Regions from separate parts of the Homo sapiens genome. Here regions 2 and 3 are each linked to region 1. Evidence: promoter capture Hi-C in 16 types of primary human blood cells and fetal thymus (Javierre and others, 2016). All regions are on one chromosome and are shown on one strand. Each heading gives the region's core, a stretch centred on a gene start or on the middle of the fragment in contact. The rest is flanking DNA. Distances are from core to core; before and after follow the strand shown. Region 1 holds the start of THEM5 (thioesterase superfamily member 5). Region 2 overlaps S100A10 (S100 calcium binding protein A10). Region 3 overlaps SNX27 (sorting nexin 27).

The links. The method cuts DNA at HindIII sites, captures the fragments that hold promoters and counts their contacts. A CHiCAGO score of 5 or more calls a contact.
Region 2: a fragment that was not itself captured here is called in contact with the fragment with the promoter of THEM5 in region 1 in 1 of 17 cell types (non-activated CD4 T cells); the score reaches 5.7 in non-activated CD4 T cells.
Region 3: a contact is called between a fragment that was not itself captured here and the fragment with the promoter of THEM5 in region 1, in 1 of 17 cell types (M1 macrophages). The highest score is 5.5, in M1 macrophages.

The regions. Positions count from the first base shown.
Region 1 is chr1:151,851,973-151,855,295 of GRCh38, reverse strand. It overlaps THEM5 (thioesterase superfamily member 5), which reads left to right and starts at 1,584. Exons shown (of 6, transcript NM_182578.4): 1 at 1,584-1,853; 2 at 2,837-3,038. The coding sequence starts at 1,731. The HindIII fragment of the contact is 9,012 bases long and covers 1-3,323 here.
Region 2 is chr1:151,982,715-151,986,078 of GRCh38, reverse strand. S100A10 (S100 calcium binding protein A10) reads left to right here. Exons shown (of 3, transcript NM_002966.3): 3 at 2,755-3,164. The coding sequence ends at 2,916. Among named protein-coding and RNA genes, the nearest start is that of S100A10, 9.5 kb to the left of the region's middle. The HindIII fragment of the contact is 2,742 bases long and covers 359-3,100 here.
Region 3 is chr1:151,636,704-151,640,214 of GRCh38, reverse strand. It overlaps SNX27 (sorting nexin 27), which reads right to left. Exons shown (of 12, transcript NM_001330723.2): 2 at 1,096-1,327. Among named protein-coding and RNA genes, the nearest start is that of SNX27, 26 kb to the right of the region's middle. The HindIII fragment of the contact is 704 bases long and covers 1,630-2,333 here.

The DNA of each region.
Region 1 (3,323 bases), core at 335-2,834:
GGCAACCAAATACAGAGGGTGAACCAAATCTTTTAAATTTCCGCATTAAATCAGTTTCATCTTTTGGAACCTGCCAAAATGTCATAATCATCACAACTATTATTATCGTCATCATCACTGTTATGATTCCACCTTTGCACAGTTCTGATTTTTTTTTTTTTAAGACAAGGTCTCACTCGGCCTCCCAAAATGCTGAGATTACAGCCTTGAGCCACTGCGCGAGGACTGATCTTTAGAACATGCTTTTATTTTAGTCAATTTAAAACTGAGACTTTTAATTGAAAATTGGCAGTTTAAATTCAATAGAAGACACACCACCACCAAATCCCACTGCCTTGCAGATGTTGGCTGAGTGTCCCTTCCCACTCAACAAAGCCTCACTGCCGCGCCCACCTCACTCCCAGCACTGCCTGCTGACATGAGCCACTCCCTGGGCACGGGGTTCCCAAAACATGAGAGTATCCCTGCCAAGCTGTTTCCTCCCAAATTATTTTCTGCCCTCCCTGTCAAGCCCTCCCCCACCTCCAACTCCTATCCCCAGCCAGAGACCAGCAGGTGAAACTCTCCTGTGCTAACCCTTGTCCGGGATATAAGAAGAGGTGTTGGCCGGGTGCGGTGGCTCACGCCTGTAATCCCAGCACTTTGGGAGGTCACCTGAGGTCAGGAGTTCAAGACCAGCCTGGCTAACATGGCAAAACCCCATCTCTACTAAAAAAAATATACAAAATTTAGCTGGGTGTGGTGGTGTGTGTCTGTAATCCCAGCTACTCAGGAGGCTGAGGCAGGAGAATCACTTGAACCCAGGAGGCGGAGGTTGCAGTGAGCCGAGATCACGCCATTGCACACCAGCCTGGGCGACAAGATTGAAACTCCGTCTCACCAAAAAAAAAAAAAAAAAAAAAAAAGAGGTGTCTAAGGCTGTGAGTTGGTTTTCTTTTTTTTTATTTTTTTATTTTTATTTTTTTGAGACGGAGTCTCGCTCAGTCGCCCAGGCTGGAGTGCGGTGGCTAGATCTCAGCTCACTGCAAGCTCCACCTCCCAGGTTCACGCCATTCTCCTGCCTCAGCCCCCTGCGTAGCTGGGACTACCGGCACCCGCCACCACGCCCGGCTAATTTTTTGTATTTTTTTTAGTAGAGACGGGGTTTCACCGTGTTAGCCAGGATGGTCTCGATCTCCTAACCTCGTAATCCGCCGCCTCGGCCTCCCAAAGTGCTGGGATTACAGGCGTGAGCCACCGCACCCGGCCTGTGAGTTGGTTTTCTGAGTCACAAAATCATACCAGAGTTTTCAGAGTCCGGTATACACTGCAGAGCACATACCAAGAACACTCCACCAGCACCCTCCAATCAAGGGACAGGCTTCCCTTATCCTTCTGGAAATATTCTTGGATTCTCCCTCAGAACCCCCAGGCAGCTCTCCAAGGCTCTATATACCCCATACTATTTGTTTATGTACTTGTTTACTCCTTTTGCAACTCAAGCCAGTCCTGCTGCCTTTTCATGCCCAAGCAGCATCTGTCCCTCCCCAAGCACTGGGTGGGGCTCCTAGACCAGCTAAAGGCGCCGAGCATCTGTGGGTGTTGCAGCACACCAGCCCAGCCTCGCCTAGCTCTCTGAAAGAAAGCCTGCAACAGAAGGGAGAGAAGCGGCCCCAAGTGCAGCTGAAAGCACTCCTTGGGAGTCAGCCAAGACCCTCCATCCAAGCAGGGCTGGATCCTTGCACTTGGCCATGATAAGGAGATGCTTCCAGGTGGCAGCAAGACTTGGCCACCACAGAGGCCTTCTTGAGGCCCCCCGTATCCTGCCCAGACTCAACCCTGCCTCAGCATTTGGATCCTCCACAGACTCCATGGTGAGTTCCCAGCTCAGCCAGATGGGCAGTGTTTTCCCAGGAGCCTAGGGCTTAAGGAGCACCCCAAATCTCCTCTTCCCAGCCCATGGCCAGGGCAGGTGGGCAGTGTTCGGAGGAGCTATTTGATTTGGCAAAGAGAAAGTGCTCTGGGATACCAAGTTGCCCCCATTCAAAACTAAAACTACCAGGAGACCTGCATCTGGCTCTGTGTCTTGTGTGGCCACCAACAAATGACTTTCCTCCTGTGGGACTCAGACTACTGCAGCAAAGCTGGGGTATCCCCAGACAGAGGACCCCATCTGTGGCATTGGCAAGCAGCTCACATGCTGTCTACAGTTGTGACTGGTGTATGAGCAGGTGACGCTACAGAGGACTTCCTTACGTCACACAGATGGGCACATAGTCTGTGCCCCAGCCATGGCACCACACCTCTGTGGGGGCCCAAATGTGTTTCAAAGGAGCCACCCTGCCCAGGCAGGCCCACAGCAGTGGGCAGAGCTGGAGTAGCCCCTGAGGTGGGGGTTGCTAGAATGGTCCTCAACAACTGTGACCCTGCCCTGCAGAGGAGACAGCATCTAGTGCGACCACCAGCTCTCACAGTCACATGCTTGGCAACCTTGGCCGTATTCCCTCAGTTTCCCCATCTGTACAGTGAGGCTAATATGAGCAGTTGTCAACTTTAAAGAACTGCTCACATGTTTTAAGCAGAACAAGGGTAAGGCACCACATCGAGCAGCATGCCCATCATCTCTGGCCCCACTCCCTGCCCGCCCTTCCCTTGCTCTTTAGCATCCTTATGCCCCGTCACCCATAGGGGTCCGCAGCCCCCCTGCAAGGAATATGGGCCCTTTCCCTTGGATCGATACTCTGGCAGAAGGGATTGAGAAGCCCCAGCACCCAGGAACAGCTGTTTAGAGGTCCCGAGCCCAGGCAGCAGCCCCCCTCCAGGATGCTGTCTAGTCATTCTGATTTTTCCTGCCCAGTTCTCAAGATTCTTGCCAGAGAAGACAGACTTGAAGGATTATGCTCTTCCCAATGCCAGCTGGTGTTCGGACATGCTGAGCCTGTACCAAGAATTTCTGGAGAAGACTAAGTCTAGCGGCTGGATCAAGCTGCCCTCCTTCAAGTCCAACAGAGACCACATCCGGGGACTCAAGCTCCCATCTGGACTGGCAGTTTCCTCAGGTAAGGACAGGACCATGAGTACACACACCCCAGCCGCCCTTCCCTGTGTTCTAAGACTGAGAAGCAACTTCACAGACCGCCTTCCAGTTCTCAGCGAGTTCTTCCTGCTGTCCAACTCCACCCCTGATGCTGCAGCCCCAGGCAACAGGCGGCGGGTGTCCTCTCAGGTCTCCAGCTCCCCTCCTCCCATCTGAAGCAGCACACCCTGGTGGGCCCACCTTCGCTCCCAGCCAAGCATGTCCCCACTGGAGGACAGCCAGCCCAGCTCCTGCCCCGACTTCTCAC
Region 2 (3,364 bases), core at 480-2,979, 130 kb before region 1:
AAAGAACCAGACATAAAAGTCAATGCTTCTAGGCCTTGGTTCCTTTTCCTTCTTGTTTCCATCCCTTCCCTGTGGAGGTCACCACTAGTGAATAAATGAATGTAGTCACCTGAAGGAATGAATGAATGACCTCATTCATTCATTTATTAAATAGTATTGAGTACCTGCTATTTGTAAGATACTGTTGAGGAAACAAAGTAATGAAGACACAGCCCCAACCTTCAAGGAGCTTACAGTCTGCAGGTGAAATAAGACTGCATACAAATAACCACAATATGAGCTGTTTGTTGGAAAATTCCATCGGGTTATCTGTGTCTGTTGTGACGATGTTGGGGACAGAGTTGGGAGAAAGAAAGCTTTTCACAAAAGAGTAGTCAACCAGAAAATGGCTACCTTCAGGTCCAAAAACCTGGTGGTGGAGATGCCACATCCTGGTCACATTCCATTTTGAGCAACTCGAATCTCCCTTCTTAAATCTCTTCAGATAAAGGGATTGTTTTTTCTTTTTCTAATACTACAAAGGAGCAGTGTCAGTCATCTACTGAATAAAAGCCACATATCACTCCAGAAATAACTGCTTTTCACATAATAATGCTCTGACAGCACAGGAGCAGTTTGAATTTATGTCTCACCTTTGACAGACTGAGAGATGCATGAAGACCTATAAGAGGACTCTGCCATCAGCTCAGATACATCACTCAGGACATGGGGCCACAAGGCACAGTTGTCCTTTTATATTCCAGGTTCTCGAGAGGTGGCTGTTGAATTCAACTGAAGGTGCAACATTGCATGACAAAATAGTAGACTGAAATGCAAGCCCTTCTTTCCCTACCACAATTGTAGTCACCTGAAAAGATTGTTTCTGTGCTTGGTGTTGAATAATGCATTAACCTGTAAAGGGTGAGAGGAGATACGGTAAAACGTTGGGTCCTGCCTCTTGTCATCTGACTGGTAAACGGCACATTAGTCCAGCCCCTGACTCCTGCAATCAATAAACATGAGGCTTTTTAGTATACTATAATTCGTATGTCATCAATATCAGTTAAATAAACAGATATAAATAGCCTAACTGCTCTCTCAGAGCTGCAGTTATTACCTAATGCTATCCCAGAATGAGTTAGAATATGCAGGTCCTCTGCTTTTGTAGAGTCCTGTGATATAGCCCCAGACCAGGAGTTAGAAGATCTGGCTCTGCCTTAACTAACAATGGGCAGGTTGCTTCAGCTCTCTAGTCTTCAGTTTCCTCCCCTGTAAAATTAGAGAGGGCTGGACATAATTATCTGCAAGGTCACTTTCACTTTCTATGATCATTCAAGACAAGCATTAAGATGCAAGGACAAAATGTGCTCATTGTAAGCCTGCCTGTCCTATAGACAAAGGCATTCTCAGTACACTAAACACTTGTTAAGAGTGTTGTTAAGAGCCAGAGTGAGTATCATGTAAGACACAGACCCTTTCTTCCTAAAGGCTTTGTGGCATCAGACACATAAAGGGTATATGTAGTGTGGAGCACTAACCATGGCAGGGTAATTTATTCCAGGCACAGAGTCATAATTCTGGAAACATCTAGACTCACTGCATTAACAGAGCATTTTGTTTCTAAAGTAGACCTCTTATGTCATCCAGATTTCACTCATTCTGACCACAGCCAGGAAGCTGAGGGTGAAGCCAGAATTAGCTGAAACCCACCAAGAGCTGCATAGAGCACGTTTAGCTAGAGTAGGAGTTTGCAGTGCTCATGTGGGAAATGCTGCTGCTATACTTTTAGGAATTTCTGAGTGCAATTTAGAAACATCTAGCACACTTGAAACACTGCGTATCATTTTCCTCACTCATGAATATAGTCATCAGAATTCATAAATAGTTTACCTGAGCCCTTTAACAACCTCAAATAGGCCATATTTCTCTCTCTGGTTGATGGCATGGACCCTACAGGAAAAACCACACCTTACCGCTTCTGACCAGCATCACTACAAAAAGGAGTGCTGAAGCCAATCACCATGTAAGCAAGATAAAAGCAAAGGGGGTCTTGCCTGCCCATCTCTGTTCCATACATTCTTACCAGGCACTGAGAGTCATGGGGAGTTTAAGACTCCATCCCACATACTCCTTTTGAAACTGGTCCAGTGTACAACATCCAGTGAAGAGTATAGGATGGCATAGACTTACCAACTCAAAGAATGAAAGGATTCTAGAAACATTATAGTCCAACCTCCTCAATTCATCGTTGATACACAAAGGCCCACTAAGCTGTGTGGTTCACTCAGCATCACGTGGCTAATATGATATGAAGCCACACTAGCTTGTCCTCAGCTGTGCCAAGAATGAGAGCTGCCTTCTCCAAACCTAAAACCAACCCATGGCATCATTAACACCTCTTTAAAATCCATAGGACAGTGATCCAAAACTTATTCCCTAAATCATAAATATCTTTTCATAAGGAGTTTCCTTTGTAAGGGATTTGACCATGCCATTAGGAATAAAATTTTAATAAGAGAATGTAAGTTTAAACCATAAAATGAGGAGCTTAGGGTGGTTCTTAGGCAGAATCTAAATATGAAATTACTGAAATGCTCCCACAAGGCAAAAAAAAAAAAAAATACATTTAGATGAACTCCAAAGGTTGCTTATGACCTAAAACAAGAGCTCAAGTAATTGGGAGATATATACACAGTTCTCAGCAGTACAAATCAAATAAGCTCCTCATTGCAACCTTTGACTTCTATTTCTTGCCTTTGTTCTTTTTTTTTTCAGAATCAAAAAGACCCTCTGGCTGTGGACAAAATAATGAAGGACCTGGACCAGTGTAGAGATGGCAAAGTGGGCTTCCAGAGCTTCTTTTCCCTAATTGCGGGCCTCACCATTGCATGCAATGACTATTTTGTAGTACACATGAAGCAGAAGGGAAAGAAGTAGGCAGAAATGAGCAGTTCGCTCCTCCCTGATAAGAGTTGTCCCAAAGGGTCGCTTAAGGAATCTGCCCCACAGCTTCCCCCATAGAAGGATTTCATGAGCAGATCAGGACACTTAGCAAATGTAAAAATAAAATCTAACTCTCATTTGACAAGCAGAGAAAGAAAAGTTAAATACCAGATAAGCTTTTGATTTTTGTATTGTTTGCATCCCCTTGCCCTCAATAAATAAAGTTCTTTTTTAGTTCCAAATTTGAGACAGAATGTTTGTTGTTCCCTCAGAAATTCTTGTTCCCCAAGAGGCAGCTTGCCCTTGGGCAGCCAGCACACAGCAGAGCTTTTCTTACACAGCAGAGCTTTTCTCACAGAACTGGCAAAATGAGAAAACACTCTTCATTCAGGCTTGGAGTCTGACTTCTCTAATTGTTCTGCCCTTGTAGCTGTGTCTATAT
Region 3 (3,511 bases), core at 732-3,231, 220 kb after region 1:
AGGAAGCATAAAACTCTAAATTCTGTGTGTGGTTCTAAGACTACAGAAGTCCATGCTGAAATAAAACCTATATGCCATTATCTACAGCTAATTACAGATGCAACCAAGCATTATTTGATCCTCTGCAACTCTTTTAGCTTCCTTGCTTTTCTTATCTCTTCACTAAAAAGAATTTACCATAAATGTTTAGTAGCTCGTTCCTATGCAGAGGATAAATCTCAGTTTTAGAGACTGTAACTTTAGTCAACTGTTAAGCTTTAAAACCTGTAGTCTGTTTGCCAGCATCTAACAGAACCCACTGCATTTTCTACTAAGAATAATGAACATTTCTCATTATATCAACACTCCACAAATAATTAAAGGCAAATAAAGCATATTGCAACCAAAAGAAAAATTAAGTAGACTGAGCTATCAGTGGCAATTAGGCTCTGAAGAACAAAGGCATTCAGCAAAGGGGCTAGCACACATCACTAAAAATTCAAGATGGGCTTTCCTGCATAGCTACAACAGCAACAGATTAGAAATGTGTGAAACAGCTCATGGGAATTGCATTCAGGAAACTCGTGGGAAAAACCACAGTTAATCATTCACACGGATATCTCCAAAGAAAATGAAAAAGAACATGATGTGGAAAGAAGAGTAGAGACATCTAAGTTCTGAAATGGGTGAACCTCTCTATTACCCAAATATCTTGAAGGACACCATCCTTTTACATTAATCTTGCCCTATAGCACCACAGAATCAACAGTAAATAAGATACTATTAGCAAAGAGATACGGCAACCAACAAAAGAACAAACAAAAAAGAAACTAAACAAAAACTCACACGTTTACGACAAACCAGAATGCAAACTTGAAACTATCTAAAAATAAAATGGAATTATACTCAAGCTGAGTAGGACTCTTTTCCACTACTGTAATTCACCCCCTGCAATAAATCAGGGTCAGTGTCTTTTATTTATGTGTGAACTCATCCTCCTGGTAGACAAACTGACCTAGGTTGCAGCCTTTTATCTACCACTATAATAGTTTCATAATTATAAGACTAGGGGAAACAAAGCTAGATGTTCGAGGATCGAGTTGGGCTGACACTCACCACAAACTTCTCACCATTCTGCTCCACATGTTTGTATCTGGGGACCGATATGGGCACTGCTTGCTTTTCTGTGTAATCATAAAATGATTGTCCCAACGAGTCGTCACTGGGATCTAGGTTATCTGCCTCATGAGGAGGTACAGATAACACTGTCAAGATCAATTCCTTCTCGCCTGCTCGAATCAGGTCCACCACCTGCTTGTGTGTCGCCCCCTCAACATTCACGTGGTTCCTAAGGGGAAAAAGGGAAAAAGACAATCCCATAAACCAGAAGGGTCCAAACACCTTGTATCTCCACCCTCCTGCCCAAACTCCAGTGTCACACGGTATGAACCATGAAGTCAAAAGATTAATTTGGTTCCAGAAAAGTTGTTTATGTTTTAACAGTTTCTAATGTGAAAAACTTTGTGAACTTATGGCGGGGGGAAAAATGGAAAGAGGTGAGAAGACCTCCCCTTCCTCTATACTAATATCCCACACATAGCTTCAGGAACGCACATGGAAAGAGGCTGAAGCTGAGGAGGAAACAAAGCTTTTTCAGTCAAACAATCCAATTTCCTCATTCTAACTAAGCATGTATACAATTCAATCAAAGTGGCTTTTGACAGCCCTGCCACTTGAATTGTACTTTGTCCTTTTTAAACCTCAAAGGAATTCTGTTAAAAGAACCTTCACAAAATAAATTCTCTTAATTTGTAAATAGAGACTCAAAAAAAGTTATGACTGAAGATAATTCCTTTACATTTACATCCAATTTCTCTCCATATCTCAAATCAGTCAACTTAATTTTCCTTTATGCCAAGTTTCATTACTTTGGGAGCTAAATGGTATTACTCTTCACATACACTAGTTTCCAATTCAATTAACCTCTTGGGATTCCATCAACTTTTTTCCTGCTCTATGCTATCTCATTTAGAGTCCTGTGTAATCAGTCCAAACTAAAAAATATACACCTATAATTATATGGTCAGCCTACTAATTTTCCTTCCTGTTTTGCTGTGTACAAAAGGCTGAAATAAGGCAAACAAAGTACAAGGTTTAGATGAAGTATTTTGTCAAGAAAGATGCTGAGTCTCACAAGACTCCCTCAGCAAACCAAACTACCTTCCAGAATGCTGATCCAGCTGCTCTCTCAGCAAAAACCACTGGGCAGCAGGCCTGGAGGTTCCCTCCCATGGCTATCCCAAGAGAGGTAGGAAATACACACCTGACCTCTAATCAATTTAACATTTAAAGCTTATCTACCCTTTAGAGTTAAATTCTTTTTCAGTCCTGTTCCAAACCATTAGGGATTTTCCTTCCTGAAAAATGATACTAAATTTAGTAACAAGCCTTCCATAAACTTTTCAGTCACTGAAATTGTCTCTGTCAGAGTCTGGTATCTGAAATATCCATTTATATAAACAGAACAGTCAGGAGACCCCCCAGCTAGCCTCCTGGGATTTAATTTAGGGTTTAACAATCTAGCCAGTAAATTCAGCACTCCTGACATTTCACATCCTACAAGTCTAACTTATATACAAAAAAATCAGTAATTTTACAATAAGCTAGCTATAGAAAAAAATAAAGAGCCCCTTTCACTGATGGAAACTTGGGCTTTGAATTCATTCAGTCAGACCTGTGATCAAAAAACATGATCAGGCGCCGGGCGCGGTGGCTCAAGCCTATAATCCCAGCACTTTGGGAGGCCGAGGCGGGTGGATCACAAGGTCAGGAGATCAAGACCTTCCTGGCTAACACGGTGAAACCCTGTCTCTACTAAAAATACAAAAAATTAGCCGGGCATGGTGGTGGGCGCCTGTAGTCCCAGCTACTTGGGAGGCTGAGGCAGGAGAATGGCGTGAACCCGGCAGGCGGAGCTTGCAGTGAGCCCAGATCACGCCACTGCACTCTGCACTCCGCACTCCAGCCTGGCGGACAGAGCAAGACTCTGTCTCAAAAAAAAAAAACAAAAAAACAAAAAAAACGTGATCAACTCTGATCATATACCAGCATGGTAAAATGGAAAGAAAATGGGCTTTGGAGCTACTTACAGGAGTTTAAATCCTGATCCTGACTATTAGTACCAGAATTGGTCTTGACTGAGTTTTTAACCTTTCTTAGCCTTGCTTTCCACATGTGTAAATGGAGACAATAAGTTCCTAACAGAGTTGCTGTGAAGATTAATGTAATAAAACATGTAGAACAATTCCTAAACATTTATATCAGAAGGTTTAAGAAGTAAAGAGGTACTATGTATATAGATTTTGATTAAAGAAGAAATGGAAATCTTAAGTAAGGAACTGGCAAAAGATTTTATCTAAGTATTTGGCCTTACTAGTTCTGAGAAAATGATTTGATGGTATAAGAAAAAAAATGAAAAAGCAAGTTTAGAAATCACCATACATTCTTATATATCCCTAGGAACCTTAGCTAA